Linked DNA regions of Homo sapiens: region 1 is linked to region 2. Evidence: promoter capture Hi-C in human tissues and cell types (Jung and others, 2019). All regions are on one chromosome and are shown on one strand. Each heading gives the region's core, a stretch centred on a gene start or on the middle of the fragment in contact. The rest is flanking DNA. Distances are from core to core; before and after follow the strand shown.

What was found. The method cuts DNA at HindIII sites, captures the fragments that hold promoters and counts their contacts. A contact is called where the count stands out against the background at its distance.
Region 1: a contact is called between a fragment that was not itself captured here and the fragment with the promoter of MOCOS in region 2, in 2 of the 25 tissues and cell types used here (heart left ventricle and mesenchymal stem cells).

The regions. Positions count from the first base shown.
Region 1 is chr18:35,977,297-35,981,680 of GRCh38, forward strand. It overlaps RMP24 (ribonuclease MRP subunit p24), which reads left to right. Exons shown (of 5, transcript NM_031446.5): 4 at 114-304; 5 at 1,539-1,982. The coding sequence ends at 1,710. Among named protein-coding and RNA genes, the nearest start is that of RMP24, 6.8 kb to the left of the region's middle. The HindIII fragment of the contact is 4,569 bases long and covers 1-4,041 here.
Region 2 is chr18:36,185,854-36,189,918 of GRCh38, forward strand. It overlaps MOCOS (molybdenum cofactor sulfurase), which reads left to right and starts at 1,644. Exons shown (of 15, transcript NM_017947.4): 1 at 1,644-1,828. The coding sequence starts at 1,687. COSMOC (cell fate and sterol metabolism associated divergent transcript of MOCOS) reads right to left here and starts at 1,582. Exons shown (of 2, transcript NR_134605.1): 1 at 1,382-1,582. RefSeq lists an enhancer at 1-688 and silencers at 1,448-1,711, 1,557-1,746. The HindIII fragment of the contact is 25,317 bases long and covers 1-4,065 here.

The DNA.
Region 1 (4,384 bases), core at 507-3,006, 210 kb before region 2:
CCCCTATAGTATCTGGTGTAGTCCCTGACATTTAAGAATTCAATGAACCTGTGGTTTATGGGGTTAAATTATAAGATAAATGACGGGACTGATATTTCTTATTTTTATGGTAGTTGATCACTTGTAAAACATGCAACAGAACAGTGAAACATCATGGTAAAAGTAGAAGCTTTGTGTCAACATTGAAGAGCAATCCTGCCACTCCTACAAGTAAACTCAGCCTGAAGACACCAGAGAGAAGGACTGCAAACCCAAATCATGACATGTCTGGCTCGAAAGGCAAGAGCCCAGCATCGGTTTTCAGGTATCTTAATCCATGAAGTTTTTGAATTGCCAGTGTTAAGTGTTTTCTTCTAATTTCCTGTGTTTAATATATACTCCCTAAATATGCCATGCATTTCAGGACTTGGCCATTTTTCCTCCATACCCTTTTCTAATGTCACATACTCCCATATCTTCAATGCTCATTTCAATGCATTTGACTTCTAGGTATGTTACTCTACTTCCAACATCTCCTGTGCCTATTTCCAGCTGCCTGCTAAATATAACCACTTCAGTCCCCTACATGTTCAAAACTTAGTTCATCATTGCCCCACAGCTAACCACTCAAACCTGTCCATCCTCCTGAGTTCCTTATTCTGTGAATGAACACACCTTTCTGGACATTTTGACCTAAAATGACAGGTACATTCAAAAATCCCTATTCCCTTGGTCCTTGTCACCGATTTCTATATATCCTACTTCCCTGTTTTCATCTTTTTGCTCCTTTTTCTCCATAGTGCTGCTATATTCTGGTTCAGGTCCTTATGCACCATTTGTCAGGACTACTGCAGTGATTTTCCTCATGGGTCTCCCTGCTTCTAGGATCAAACTCTTTTAGTGTGATCATCTTTCTGGAGCATAGCTCTGATTAGAAGCATCACTGTGTAGCATATGGATAAATGCTCTAGCATGGCTTTCCAGCCCTATCTGGCACCAGTCTGTCTGCCTGTCTTTCTTTGCCTTAAATCATCCTATGTGCCAACAAAACTGAACCATTCACGGCCGGGCATGGTGGCTCACACCTGTAATCCCAGCACTTTGGGAGGCTGAGGTGGGCGGCTCAGGAGTTCAAGACCAGCCTGTGCAACACGGTGAAATCCCATCTCTACTAAAATACAAAAGATTAGCCAGGCGTAGCGGCGTGCGCCTGTAGTCCCAGCTATTTGGGAGGCTGAGGCGGGAGAACTGCTTGAACCTGGGAGGCAGAGGTTGCAGTGAGCTGAGATGGCGCCACTGCACTCCAGCCTGGGCGACAGAGCGAGACTCCGTCTCCAAAAAAAAAAATACTGAACCATTCATAATACACTTTCTTGCCCTAAACATTTGTTCTTGCCCTTTTCTCTGTCAGAAATTCCTGAGGAAATCTAACTGAACAGGGATTTGTCAAATGATAATACACCGAGGATAGCCAGTGCATGTATATGGCCATAATACAAAAGAGTAGAAAATGATTGTCATTTGTTGGTATAACTAAGTGTGGTTTTGTTTCTTTTCAGAACACCTACATCTGGACAGTCAGTATCTACTTGCTCCTCAAAGAACACCAGCAAAACAAAGAAACACTTCTCTCAACTAAAAATGTTACTTAGTCAGAATGAATCCCAAAAGATTCCAAAGGTGGACTTCAGAAATTTCTTATCTTCTCTGAAGGGTGGACTTTTAAAATAAGAAATGCCTGATGTCAATTCTGAAACTAAAGTTGGTAAAACAACTTTTTAAACTCTTATTCATTTTTTGAATACATGGAAACTAGATCTGAATGCAAACTTTTCTTGGCATCCTTCAGTGTTTATGGGGAAAATACCTCATTAGTGTGAATACCTGAAACCTGCCTACCTCATAGGACAGCTGTGAGGATCAAAAAATATATGAAAGTTCCTTGTAGATACATATCTATAGATATATATGTGTATGTATATAAAGATAGATATATACATTGAGTAGTGGCATTACTGTTTTTTCTTCCTTTAGTCAGCAGTTTTTATTTATGTTATTGTCTTTCAAAAGGAAATTGAGATCTTTATGAGAGGGTCTATTCACTCAAGGGTTTCTTCCATGTGTCTATAGCATTGTTGATAATTCAGGAATAGGATCAAGTGGGTCCTTATTTTCTCACAATTATCTGCATAACTATCTTAGTAAAACCTGAACCTTATTCCTATTTTGATTGCAAAAGTAAATATCTGGAACATTCCTGATTATAGATCACTCAATAGGAAACTAAAATTTTCTTTCTTAGAAAAGGAAACATACTGTTGGTGATACTATAAATTAGTACAGCAACTTTGGAAAACAGTATGGAGGTTCCTCAAAAAACTAAAGGTAGAATTACCATATGATCCCATATCTGCATATATATCCAAAGGAATTGAAATCAGTATGTCAAAGAGATGTCTGCCCTACAGTGTTTCATTGTAGGATTATTCACAATAACCAAGATATGAAAACAACAGAAATGCTTGTCAAAGGATGGATTTTTGTAAATGTGTATATACACAATGGAATACTATTCAGCCTTTAAAAAGCAAGAAATTCTGTCAGTTATGATAACATGGATGAACCTAGCGGACATTATGCTAAGTGAAATAAGCCAGACACAGAGAGACAAATACTGTATTATTTACATGGGATCTAAAAAAGTAGAGCTCATAGAAGTAGAGGATATAATAGTGATTACTGGAGGCTGTGGTTGGGGGAGGGGAAATTTCAATTAAGAGGAATAAGTTCTATGATCTCTTGTACAGCATGATGACTCTAGTTAATGTATATTTCAAAATAGCTGAAAGAGGATTTTTGGCCTTTTTTTTTTTTTTTTTTTTTTTTTTAAGAGACAGAGTCTTGCTCTGTCATCTGGGCTGGAGTGCTATAGCATGATTATAGATCACTGTAGCCTTGAACTCCTGGGCTCAAGTGATCCTGTTGCCTCAGCCTCCAGAATAGCTGGAACTACAGACACACACCACTGCACCTGGCTAATATTTTATTTTAATTTTTTTCATTTCCCACTATAAGAAGCCATAATTTTTTTTATTTTTTGTAGAGGCAGGATCTTACTTTGTTGCCCAGGCTTGTCTTGAATTCCTGGCTTCAAGCAATCCTCCTAACTCAACCTCCCAAAGTGCTACGATTACAGGTGTGAGCCACAGTGCCCAGCCAAAAGAGGGTTTTTTAATGTTCTCGCCACAAAGAAATGATAAATGTTTGAGGTGATGGATCTATTAATTAGCCTGATTGGATTACACCAGTGTATACATGTAATGAAACATCACATTGTGTCCCATAAATATATACAATTATTATTTGTCTTTTTTTTTTTTTTTTTGAGACGGAGTCTCACTCTGTCACCTGGGCTGGAGTGCAGTGGTGCAATCTTGTCTCACTGCAGCCTCCACCTCCTGGGTTCAAGCAATTCTCCTGCCTCAGCCTCCTGAGTAGCTGGGATTACAGGTGCCCGCCACTACGCCCAGCTAATTTTTTGTATTTTTAGTAGAGATGGGGTTTCACCGTGTTGGCCAGGCTGGTCTCGAACTCCTGACCTAGTGATTCGCCCGTCTCGGCCGTCCAAAGTGCTGGGATTATAGGTGTGAGCCACCACGCCTGGCCTACAATTATTATTTATCAATTAAAAATACTCAAAGGCCAAGATTAACAACTTGTTCTTATAGTTGCATGAAATGAAATTGTGCTAACTGGTGCCAGCACCAAAAGGCCAGGTATTCACTTTGTGTCCACAACATTTGGCACAACACAATGGTCATGGTAGCTGCTTTACCTTTCTGACTAACTTCTCTCTAGAACATCTGTTTCTCTTGAACTCGTCTTGCTCCTGATCACCTGGTCATAGCGAGCTCTTTGCAGTTCTCAATGCATACCATGTACTTGGCAGCTTCGGGCCTCTGCATGTGCTTTTTCCTTTAGGTCTCACTTTGGAGACTGCCCTCCACCCCAACCCCACTGCATTATGAGGGGCCACTTTTTTTCACAGTTCTGGTGACCCTGTAGTTTCTTGTTTCTGATCATTACCAACTGCCTGTGAGCTCTTTGCAGACCTGAGTGGTCTCACTTGTACCCCCAACACCTAGTTTGTTGCCCAGCACATAGCACAAACTGCAGATTCCAAGACTTACTACATTTAATAAGTTCTACTTCTTCCACACTAAGAACTAAGGTCCTTTCTGAGCACATGATTGGAAAGTAGATAAAAAGTAGTAAAGATAGAAACTCTCAGGTGGGAAGTTGTCCACATTACTTCATTTGCAAGTGAGGGACACTGTGGATTCTTGACTTTTCTGTTTCGCAGAAAGGTCTTTGGGCATTTCTAAAGAATATTTGAAAATTGAAG
Region 2 (4,065 bases), core at 394-2,893:
CCAGAAGGCAAGCAGATGGTGGGGTGGGCAGTGATGTCAATGAGCAAATGCCTGCATCCATCCATCAGTACATTAACTCCTCCTCGAACAACTATGGGTGTTTGTCGAGTAAGGTCCTGGACATTCAGCAGTGAGGGAGAGAGCGGGGGTGGTCAGTGGGCAGAGGCCACTGAGGAATATGGGTACCTGGGCATGGACCCTAGCGCTGCAGTCCACAGACCCCTGGGTCTCCGGCCAGGGGGAAATGAGCTCTTAGTGGCGGGTCTTTCTCTGGCCTGGTATCAGGGGCCTGGGCGGGAGAGCCAGGGCTGCGTGCTGCCTTCCCATGGCTCTCACGCTGGGCACCGGTATGCATCATGCATCAGCAAGGATCCTAGGGCATCTGCGGCCCATACCCTGGGTGGCAGCTGGCCTGGATGCAGCACAGGTTGAGCTCTTGGGGCATAGGCCTCCTTCCCACCTTGTCCCCCCGCTGTATGCCTCCAGGGCCTGTGGGCCGCCTGCACCTGGTCGCCGGCCTTGGGTTCTCCACCGAGCCTGCCTCTGAGTTATCTCCCCTGAGCCCCAGCACCTGCCGCCCATCCGCACTGTCCACCATCCCTGACATTCGATTCCCCCACGAGGCACCTCGCCTGTGCGTGCAGTACCTGTTTTGCTTCCACCCCATTCCCAGCAGCGGGTTCCGCACCTGGGATCGCACGTGAGATTTCCCCCCACCCCCCAACCGCATGCCTGGGCTCTACTACCTGCACCTGCCGCCCCACCCCTGCATCCCGCTCCGCACTTCCCGCGCATAGGTTTGGCCAGGCCCTCCCTATTGAGGCACCTGTTCTCCAAGACAGAGCCGCTGTGTCCCAGGTGCTCTGGGTGCAGGCGCGAGTGGGGATTGAAGGAGGCGCTCTTATTCCACTCTGTCCGGGACAGGGGCGGCTTTGTCCTAGGGCACTCTTGCTTTAATAGAGAGGGCCCGGCCACACCCACGTGCGGGAAGTGCGGGGCGGGATGCAGGGTTGGGGAGGCAAGGGCAGGAAGTAGGGCCCAGGACGCGGTTGGGAGGGCGGGGAAGCTCAGCTCACTTGGATCCCAGCTGCAGGGCCCGCTCCGGGGGAAGCCCCCGAGCTTCCCGGTTCCGAAAGTGTGCAGCCACTGAGAATTTATTAGCCTCGTGGATCCCTAATCTTTCCCCTTTTCTACCCTTTGGTCAGCCGCATTCTAACAAACGGCAAGCACACGCCCCGCTGGGTAGCAGCAACCCGAGAACGCCCCCACCCCCGCCCCCGCCAGACGCCGGTTCCCGCTTGAGAGGGTGAGGGTCCCGAGACCCCTGCGAGGAGGAGGGTCGCGGGGTTCCAGGATGCCGATGCCAAGCAGGAAAGATCACCTCGTTGCTTCTTCCACCGGCCTCTCCGCGAGACATAGCTAAACTTGAACTTGGCATTCCAAGGGTCTGGAAACATCTTCGTGGGACCCATCGAGAGGTTGTTTAAAGACTGGCACCCGCTCCCGCGCCCAGGTGGGGAAAGGGCTGGCCAGAAGTGAAAGTCCGGTCGGGGCGCCACACCTAGGCTGCGGATTCCGAGAGACTGGGAGGCTGGAGGCCTGGGAGGCGTGGCGGGGGCGGAGTCGCCGGGGGCCGGCTTCGCGCACTTCCCGGGCCCGGCCGGCCTGGATGGACTAGCCGGGGCCATGGCCGGCGCGGCGGCGGAGTCAGGGCGGGAGCTGTGGACCTTCGCGGGTTCCCGGGACCCGAGCGCACCGCGGCTAGCCTACGGCTACGGCCCGGGCAGCCTGCGCGAGCTGCGGGCGCGCGAGTTCAGCCGCCTGGCAGGTGAGGCGGGCGGGCAGGCTTGGGGGACACGAGGTTTCTGGAACCGACGTGGACGGATCTTTTGCTCCTAGTGAGAGCGGCGCTACCTCATTCGGGCGCATTTTGAATCGAAACTCCAGGAGGGACGTGTCCACGCGTCCTCCTAGTAGACACGGCTCCCTGAGGTCCCACCTGCAGCCCCAAGGCTTCTTGCTACTCTTACTCTTCCGACTTTCCGGTGGGCAGGACCAACCTAGCCGTCTTCCCCTTTTCCCGCCCTCCGCGAGCGGGGCTTAGGATGGTTCTTGCCCTCTCTTGCGGGAGACCCCTCACTGTAAAGGGCCTGCTGGGGCCGGGGTTGCAAAAGACAGCATGTCCAGCGGCCGTGACCCTTCGGATGTCCTCCCGAGGTAGGAGCGGTGCGTGGACCGCCAGCGCCCGGGCTGGGACAGCACCTCTGACGGCGCGCCAGGTTGGGACCGGGAGGCCAAGGCCTCTTGGCCGGGGCCTCCCGAGGCTGCGCTCTGCAGACTCCTCTGGGATAGCCTGTATTCAGCTTTGATTTTCGAAACCTCATTTTCCTTACTCTTACAGCGTCAGAACAATCCCTCTGAGCTCCAGTTCTCTGGGGGACTAGAAGAATTAGCAAACAGTGCAATTTCACCTTTAAGAACAGGGCGAGCCTGTGAATTAGACAACACCAAGATCACATCGTGCCTTTCCTCAGAGCGGAACAGGCTGATGAAATTGCAAATCAAGCTCCATCTGGCCTTGGCCGACCCAGCCCTCTGCTGCCAGGGCCCAAGTTCGTGACTCATCCCTCTGCCAGGGACTTTGGGTGCAGGGCTTCATCAAGCCCCAGGGCCGCGTGCCGGATGGTCAAGGAGGGTGTGCAGGTGAAGTGGGCACGTCTTGGCACAGGGCACCGGGGTTTGAGTGTATCTGCTCTGTCGCGATGAACAACTGGTGACTGCTCCCCTTCTGGGGGCAGAACAGCAACCATGACTTAGGTTTCACTACTCGGGTAGCTGATTTCAGCGCTTCGGGTCACTTCCTGGTGTTGTGGAGGGTAACTGTGTTTTCCCTTTGGGGGCTGTGAGAACTGTGGCCTCCTCCTGTGTGTCTCCTCTGGCTTCCTAAGTAGGGAGAGTCAGGAGGGAGACGGGGGTGCCTTCTGCCAACCTCTCTATTCACTCCTCATCCTTCCCTCTCGCAGGGTCACCTGCTGGAGACAGCTCCTCACCCTTCTTTCGTATTCTCTCTCTCTCTCTCTCTCTCAACTATTAATTATGGAAATTTCCTACCACTCAGAAATAGAGGGGTACTATGAATGCCTACAGGTGCTGGGGAGGGAGGCTCTCCATTCTTTGAAGCAACTCTTCAAGGCTACCTGAGTAATTATATCAGCACCGCACCTCCTTAATCCCCTAAATCTCCTCCAGCTGTGATCTCTCACGCCCACTATTGGCCAACCTCTCCCCTCAATGCTACCCTGGGAAAGTAGAGCTATGTTCTGGTCCCCTCCTGGTTTCACTCTTGTCCCTCAGAGAACAGTACTTTTCCCCTCAAATGCAAAATTGGGATGTGTCAGCCAGGCTGGCCCTCAGAACTCGTTACCACTTACTGTATGTCTGGTAGTGTTGTGGGCATCTTTTATTTAATGCAAGTTCCTTGTATTTCCTCTACATTACGGTTAAAGCAGACATTTGTGCACTAATCTGACGCCCCTCCCACTGCTGGGAGTCTTGGAACATGTCCACTTGTTTTTCTCCTAGAAACAAGACAGAGAGAGGGCGGGAAAAAACAAACCAAAATAACATCACCTCTTCCTCGTTCCTCCTCTCCCCTCATGAAGTTTTTCTGCCAATTTGAGAATTACTCTGGTTAAGTGGTGGCTCAGAATAATTAAATGCTTAAGATTTAAGTGCTGAAATGTGTTACCTAAAGATTTGGATGGGAACTTCCTTGCCTTTGTGAAGGGAGAGTATTGAATATACGGATGTGTGTCAAGGGTCTCTGGAAGCCTTCGTGCTGAATCATGACCACTCACCATGCTGGAAAGAGAACTGGAGGGGGATGACCTAGAGCTGACCCTGGAATTCTCTTTCCTGAAGAAGGTCTGATGCCATTTAACTTTGGGGTAATTCACCTGTTTCTAATAACAGCTACACCTGTGTCCCGAGCATTGGACTGGATGCTGCCATATAGCAGCTCATTTAACCTTTGTCCCATCTGCAGATGAAAGAACAGGGGCCCAG